Linked DNA regions of Homo sapiens: region 1 is linked to region 2. The links are contacts of gene promoters, found by promoter capture Hi-C in blood cells and fetal thymus (Javierre and others, 2016). All regions are on one chromosome and are shown on one strand. The core of a region is centred on a gene start or on the middle of the fragment in contact, and the rest is flanking DNA. Distances in the headings are between cores, read along the strand shown.

Region 1 (3,887 bases), core at 1,152-3,651, 730 kb after region 2:
TGCCAGTTTGTCCCTCTGCAGTAGTACCATTTGAAGTACAGTGTTTTCATAATGATTCTGTGAAATGACTGGTTCTGTGAATGTACATAATTTAGCAGATAACATTGTTAAATTATTAGGTTTGTATTTATTTAGGCACTTGGGAAATGCCTTGTGTCAATTGATTATAGATTAGGAGCTTAAAAGCAAGATTTATATTATCAACTTATTTGTGAAGACTGGGAAACCCACATTTTTAAAGTTAGGAATTAAGATGGCCAGGTTCAAGGAAAAGGGGGAGAAGTAACTTTCTTATTACTCAACCATCTTAAATAGAGTTCTTTAAGTGTATTTTTAAGAGGTCTCAAAACTTAATCTGAAGGGACGTCAAATGCTGGACAAATTCTGTGTATACAACTCAAGTCAGCCCCCAATTTTACTGGTCTTTAAATCATGTCCTTTTTACCAGAAGTTTGCATTTCTAAGCTAAACTATTACTGTTAGACTAGATCCAAAACTTAAAAACAGTTTAGGTAATTAAAAATTAATTGAATATAAACGTTTTACTTAAATTAATGGCAAATGGCTTTTTGGCCAATTTAAGTTTATGTAGGCAGTTAAATCGATTTTGGTTAAATCTTTTGCTGCTAACAAGGTATTTCCAGATTTTGAAAAGTGGGGTGGCCTGGTGCCTGTAGTACCAGCACTTTGGGAGGCTGGGGAGGGTGGATCACCTGAGGTCAGGAGTTCGAGACTAGCCTGGCCGACGTGGTGAATACAAAAATTAGCCAGGCATGGTGGCAGGTGCCTGTGATCCCAGCTGCTTGGAAGTCTGAAGCATGAGAATTGCTTGAACCTGGGAAGCGGAGGTTGCAGTGAGCTGAGATCACGCCACTGCACTCCAGCTGGGGCAACAGAGCGAGACTCCATCTCAAGAAAGAAAAGTGGGGTGTTTAGTCTTCAAACTCCGTGTTTAAGTGACTGGAGTGAAAATGTAAATCATAGGCCGGTGTTGGTTTAAAAAGCATCATCTGAAAATAATGCTGTAGTCTGCAATTATTTTTATTACGATACGATGGTGTAAAATACAAGCAGATCAGTGAACCATTCATGAAACATTAATCCTAAAGGCGTCTCACCCCAAGTCTATCCCACAATCTCCATGAGACTTCGTGGAACCACTGTAAAGTTTCTTGTGTAATATCCCAGAAGTTTCCTACCTCTGGTATCTTTTGAACTTGTTGAAAAGGCTTTTCCACCCCCTCTTTATGATGGTTTGAAGAGTGTGAACATCTGAATGATGCTGGGGTGAAACTGCTTCATAACACTTCCATTTTCTCCCCTATTTATTTCCATATTTTTATTTTTTCACTAATATCCCCACGGTTTTACTTCTGTTTTAGTAATTCACATGTTGCTGGACTAATTCTTTTTAACTGACTTGTAACAGATATGTTAAACCGTTTAAAACTTGGGGGGTATTTTTAACCTACTTTAAGTTAGTTCAAGTTAATCAGTCTACATGGCATATAAACCTTATGATTAATAAATCTTAAATGCTGGTAGCTGAGTTGGAAGCCAAAGACGTACAAAAAAGCTGAAGTGTTAGGTTTAGTGTGATAAGCTTCTCTTACTAACAGGGTTTTGTAATAGCAGAAATAGATATATGCATATATATGTGCATATATATAGCATACCTTATTGGATGTCCATATAAAAATGTGTAAGAAGTTAAATTTACTGCAAAATTTCTTGGGAGTGCAATTTGAAGATGATCTTAAGTGGTGATAGTAGTTTGCTACACTGGGGGATAGTTGTTGCAAACTGCTCCTAATTTTCCTTTACTGTGAAGTAAACTGAACAGCTGTAATAGGGATTAGGAACTGTACTCCCTCTCTCTCTTTTTTAAGTATAATTAAGTGGTTTTGGGGTAAGGGTGTAGGGAGTGAGTGTCTTTGAAGTTTTGCATATACTAGATGAATGCCACATGTATAAGGGAGGAACAAGGGATTCTTGGAAATATTTTTCAATCCAAGTAACTTTGGAGGCTTCCAAGTGGAGTTCATTCCCCTGTGTAGGAAAGTGCTGGGGTAGACCCTTAAATTCCTTTCTGAGCCATTGAAAGAATGTCCTCAAACTTCGCTTATACTTTATAGTTCATTTAGATACAAAAGTTACAAACTGAATGCTATTTAGGAAACGTAATACACTGACATACCGCTCTTTAAATAGATTATAAATTTAGTATATCAATTTTCTGGCATTTTGCTGAATTTTATTGTTTAGTTTTCAAGCCCAACTATCTTGTTACTTTGTATATCGTAGTTGTCCCCCGTTGATCACTGTTTCCTGCTTAATTGTGCTGTCGTTTTTCCTGGGTCCTGATTCAGAGTGTCAGCATTCTGTTCCCCATAGAATAAGAAGAGGCTAGAAAGTTTACAGATGAGATATCTAGGAATGCCAGAAGATCAGGGGTCACCGTTGAGGCAGAGTAATTAATTATGGTTAAAATGGTGTTGCTGATAAGTGGGTGCTGGGAAATAATTAAAATTTGATTTTTTAGAAGAATACTTCTCATGCTTGAAGAGCGCCCTCATTATATGCTAAAGGGCCTCAGGTTTTTCCTTATTGCCATTATGCTGCAGATTCTATTACATTTGTCTGAAAAGATCTAAGACAGAAGGGCTGTTTAATACCTTCCCTTTTCTCCTGAACTTCCCCTCTCCTCTCCCCCATCAGGAGCTAAGTAGGAACCCCTTCACCTTGTTACCATCAGATTTCATCAATGGTCTGTCTTTACAATGAAGGAAGTAGTACTGCATTCTGGGCAGAGGCCAGTCCTGAGGCATGCCTTTTCAAGGACATTGTTACTTTAGTTACACTGGCTCTTCTGTTTTAACTCTTATCCCCCAGACTCTAATCCTGTTGCTTTTTTTGGTCCCCATCTCCCACCTTTCATCATCTGAAATCCATTCATTGTAACTTCTGGAACTCAGTCGTTAGAAAATCCTTTATATTCTCAATCTTGTGAATGTTCCTTTCTTTCTTATTCCAGCTGTAACCTAGCCTTCTCCCCAAGAATGCTACTTCCCTTGCAGCTCTCTCAAGTGGTGAATTTTTCCCTTCTTGCACACCTTATAACACTGAACTAGGAGGTGTGTGGACTAAATGTCTGCTTTTGTTCCTTATTGTCACTTCTTGACCTTTATTTTCCAAAACTTCAAGCTTTGACTTTCATGTGATCAAATTATACCACCCACTGCCTGTCTTTATTTCAAGCACCTGCAAACCTTCCTGGGTCATTCACATCCTTCTTTGTTCACTTCATTAGCTCTTGGCTCATTGTCACTGTCTCTTATTTCTGTCATAATTCTTGGTGACATCAGTATCTATGTAGAGCAATACTAGTGAAGATGTGGTCTGGTAACTGTTACCTGTATGAATTAAGATAAGGAGTTATGCCAGAATATAAGTCACCTGTGTCACTAAGTTTACTGTTTAGCTTACTTTTTTTGTAGCAAGATTTTGATGAAGGACGCAATATGTTGATTTACAGTCTGGTACAAATTTTGATGTAGAAGATGCTTCCAATATCCTGGTCTCTTAGTTCCTTGATTTCTTCTCCAGTGATCTTATTTTCTACCCTAACTCAACTACATATTCCCATTGTCATATCCTAGAATATTTTGTCTTTTATCTGTAACTCTGCTCTCTTCCCCCAATCTCATTTCAAGCATCCCACTTTCTAATTCCTCTAGTAAATACGTCAGTTCCAACAGCCCATCAATCCCATTGGGACCTACAGTTTATCTATCCAAGCTTTTCCCTGTTCCTCACCCTCACTTCTATACAGCTGAAGTTTCATACTGAATTATAATCACTTTCTCGTATACACGTTTAACAATCTT
Region 2 (3,846 bases), core at 420-2,919:
GGCATGGTGGCGGGCGCCTGTAGTTCCAGCTACTCAGGAGGCTGAGGCAGGAGAATGGCATGAGCCCGGGAGGCAGAGCTTGCAGTGAGCCGAGATCGCGCCACTGCACTGCAGCCTGGGCGACAGAGCAAGACTCTGTCTCAAAAAAAAAAAAAAAAAAAAAAAGTTATTAGCTAAAGACCTGGAATCAATTGAAGGGAATGTCTGAGTTAAGATAAGGGGTTTTGGAGACCAATGTTCTTATTATGCAGATGAAACCTCCAGGTAGCAGGCTTCAGAGAGAAACGATTGTAAATGTTTCTTACCAGACTTCAAAAGGTGCCAAACTCTTAGTTAATTCTCTACTGGATCAAGGAAAACACTTTGAAAGTGAAGGGGATTCTTTACAGGATGTAGATTTTCTTCACAAAAGACAGCTTTACAGGGTCATTTCAAAATATGTCAAAGAAATACATTTTAGGGTAAAATACTTCAGTTTATTTCAGGGCCTGTTATCTGTCACATGAGACTATACTAGAGTCAGGTTAGAATTTGATGTCTTATTGCTATAAAGAGTTTGTTTTGGGCTGGGCGTGGTGGCTCACGCCTGTAATCCCAGCACTTTGGGAGGCCGAGGCGGGCGATCACGAGGTCTAGTTCAAGACCAGCCTGGTCAACATGGTGAAATCCCGTCTCTACTAAGAATACAAAAATTAGCCGGGCGTGTTGGCACGTTCCTGTAATCCCAGCTACTCAGGAGGCTGAGGCAGGAGAATTGCTTGAACCCGGGAGGCGGAGGTTGCAGTGAGCCGAGATCGGGAAACTGTACTCCAGCCTGGGCTACAGAGTAAGACTCCATCTCGGAAAAAAAAAAAAAAAGTTTTAGTCAGTCTCAAGATCTCTGTTTTAATGTTAATGCTGGTCCGTAGTGCCTGAATTCCAAGGGCATAACGAGGCAAGTCCGATCCCCTGCTTCCCATCATGGCCTGAACTAGATTGCCAGGTTTTCTTTGGAATGTTTTGGCTGAGAGAAGTGGTCCATTCAGTTGGTTGGGGGACTTAGAATTTTATTTTTGGTTTACAAAACTGTTGCATGAATTGACTCAGTTAATTCACTGAATTTATAAATTACAAACTTTTACCATTCTCAACTGATAAATTGAGGCAACGATTTAAGTATAACTTGAGCAAGTCCATATAGAGTGGAGCCAGGAACGCAGACAATGAGACACCATACCCCATGGTCTTAGGTCACAGTCATTCAGTGGGAGACAGGGGCTATAAATTCATTAGAAGGTTAAGTTAGGAATTAAGTAATTAGGTAAGGAATTAGGAATTCAGTTAATTAAGTTACAAATTGTTAAATATGGAGGAATTTATCATGTAGTTGGGGTACTAAGACATAAGAGAAAATAATAAAGAAAAACAGGAGCGGCCGGGCGCGGTGGCTCACGCCTGTATTCCCAGCACTTTGGGAGGCCGAGGCGGGCGGACAGCTTGAGCTCAGGAGTTCGAGAACAGCCTGCGCAACATAGCGAGACCCCCGTTTCAAAAAACACACGAAAAAATTAAAATTAAAAAACAAACAAACCAGGCGCAGAGCGGTTGTGGAGAAGGGAAGCGAAGGGTTGGAGTTTCGTTTCGTGGGAACCATAGAGAAGGGCCAGCCTCCCGGCTTCCTAGAGAGGCTGTAGGGACCGACGGCCGGCCAGCTAATGCTTCCGTCTTGGCCACCTTGCGAGCGCTCGGGTTGAGTTTCCCGGGCTTCCCTGACTCGGCTACCTGTTCTGGAGGTCAGGCTTTGGGCCCTTGCAGAGGTCGCCGAGGGGCCCGCGCCGCCGCCAGAGCCTGGGCCCAGTCCCCAGTCTTCAGAGACGCCCTCGACCTTCCTGCTCCGAGGAGCTGGCCTGATGTCCTCGGGTCGCGGTATTCATGGGGAGGATGGGAGCCGTGACTATAGGGTCTCCTGCTTCCCAGGGTGGAGCGTTCAGATCCCGGTTAGGTCTTCGGTCAGCATCACCCGCTGGGACATTAAGCGTCTTACCCTTGTCACCCGGGGCTGGGTCACCACTTATATTTTGTCCTGCAGCCTGTGGTTTGTTTAGGGGTCCCCGTTATATCCTACTTTCTCTCCAGAGACTTGTTTTGGGTTTTTGCCATGAACACTAGAAGCATTCAATACAAACTGTTTAGTAATGCATTCATAGTGGGGCCAAGAATTTTTTTTAAAAAACAGCCACGAATCCACTGCAGTTCTTGACTCTTACTTTACAGATATTCTTTCTAGAGTTTCCAGTGTCACCAAGCAGATCTATAGGAGAATATGCAGAGGGAGCATTTGCAACATCCCATGAATCAGTGGAGAGGGTGAATGACAGCAGCTAGTGTGCCAAGAATATCTGCAATGCTAGTGGCAGGAGACAGAGGGGAAGAGGCGGCAAGTGTAGGAGACGAGACAGATCAGTCTCATTGTGGTTCTCTCTTAGCTCCGCAGGTTCTTACTTTTTCAAACCTAGAGGGCAGTGCATGAAGCCAGGGGTCATCAGCCATGCTCCAGACAGTGTGGTTCCAGGTGAGCAGAGCTTTCTTTCAGCTTTCCATACTCAGAACAGATATGGAAGGTCAGTACAGCCCCAGTAGCCTGACTTGGCCAGTCTCATGCTTAGTTTTACATCCTTCAATAAAGTATGTAAAAACAGTATGCGAGGGGAGTTGACGAACGAGAGTAGGTGAATTTGGGAGAGTCAGGTAGGTTGGAAAAGAAGGAATGAATTATCCTAGAAAGTGGGAATCTGCATTCATGAGAACTGAAAGTGTGGCCTGGAGATGAGCAGCTTTTGCATTACAGAGGGCTCTTGTTAGGCAAAATGTCAGGCCCCCTCCCCAGATCTCCTAAATCAGAATCTACATTTTTACAAGATCTGGAAAATTAAAGGGCAGATTAAAATTTGAGGAGTGCTAGTCTGCGTTCACAGTACACAAAGAAAAGCCATTTCTGAGGTTAAATAGACACTTCCAAGGGAGGAGTTTACCCTGCAGACCACTCAGTTAAGGTACAGTGAAGCCAGAACTGGAAACATGTGGAAAATGTAGATTGATGAGGGAGATGTATTTTTGGAGGAATGATGAGTTTGGAGCTGAAGCCAGTGCCTTTAGCTCAATGCGAAGACGTCAGTCTAACCTCTGTGAGAGTCTATATCCTTTCTTGGCTACAAATTCATGTAGCATTGGGAGGACTTTTCCCTCCAGTTTTCTTGGTGGTAGATGATGGTTTTACTGGATTTTTCTCCAGTGTCCTAGATCATGGAATGAGAAAGCTGAGTTTATCATGTAATGGATGTATCTTGTAATGAGAAAGCTCCATCCCAAGGACTTAAAAACAATGTGTGTGTCCTTTTGGTGGATATTGGACCATCCACTTCTGTTCGAGAACTTCAGCAAAAATTCATTCCTACAAGTCAGGAAGTGTGCTGTGGGGGTATGCTGTGCTCTCCTGGTGCTTTGCCTGAAGTACAGAAATCACTTAGGATTAGATTCCCCAAAGAGGACCCCAAATGACAGTGGATTAAACGAGGTAAAGGCTTCTCTCTCATACAAAAGTATCAAGAGTCAATACAGGGCTAGTGTGGCAGCTCCCCTATTATGCTCTCAGGCTCTGTCTTTCTGCTCTACCATCCTAGCAGTGTCTCACCTGCTCTAGGCCACTTTATTGTCCAAGGTGGCTGCTTGATCTCTAGCCATCATGTGTGCATTCCAGCTAGAAGAGGAGCTGCCCAAAAAAAGATGAACCTCTCTCTTTTAGGAACCTTCCCATAAGTCCCCAACAATATTTATACTTGCATTTCATTGGCCCCACTTGGTTGCCCG

What was found. The method cuts DNA at HindIII sites, captures the fragments that hold promoters and counts their contacts. A CHiCAGO score of 5 or more calls a contact.
Region 1: a contact is called between a fragment that was not itself captured here and the fragment with the promoter of ZNF619 in region 2, in 1 of 17 cell types (total CD4 T cells). The highest score is 6.4, in total CD4 T cells.

Annotation. Positions count from the first base shown.
Region 1 is chr3:41,204,764-41,208,650 of GRCh38, forward strand. The region is part of intron 1 of CTNNB1 (catenin beta 1); the gene reads left to right. Among named protein-coding and RNA genes, the nearest start is that of CTNNB1, 7.2 kb to the left of the region's middle. The HindIII fragment of the contact is 1,601 bases long and covers 1,602-3,202 here.
Region 2 is chr3:40,475,453-40,479,298 of GRCh38, forward strand. It overlaps ZNF619 (zinc finger protein 619), which reads left to right and starts at 1,670. Exons shown (of 5, transcript NM_001145093.4): 1 at 1,670-1,905; 2 at 2,466-2,551. The coding sequence starts at 2,528. RefSeq lists an enhancer at 1,844-1,983. The HindIII fragment of the contact is 7,181 bases long and covers 1-3,846 here.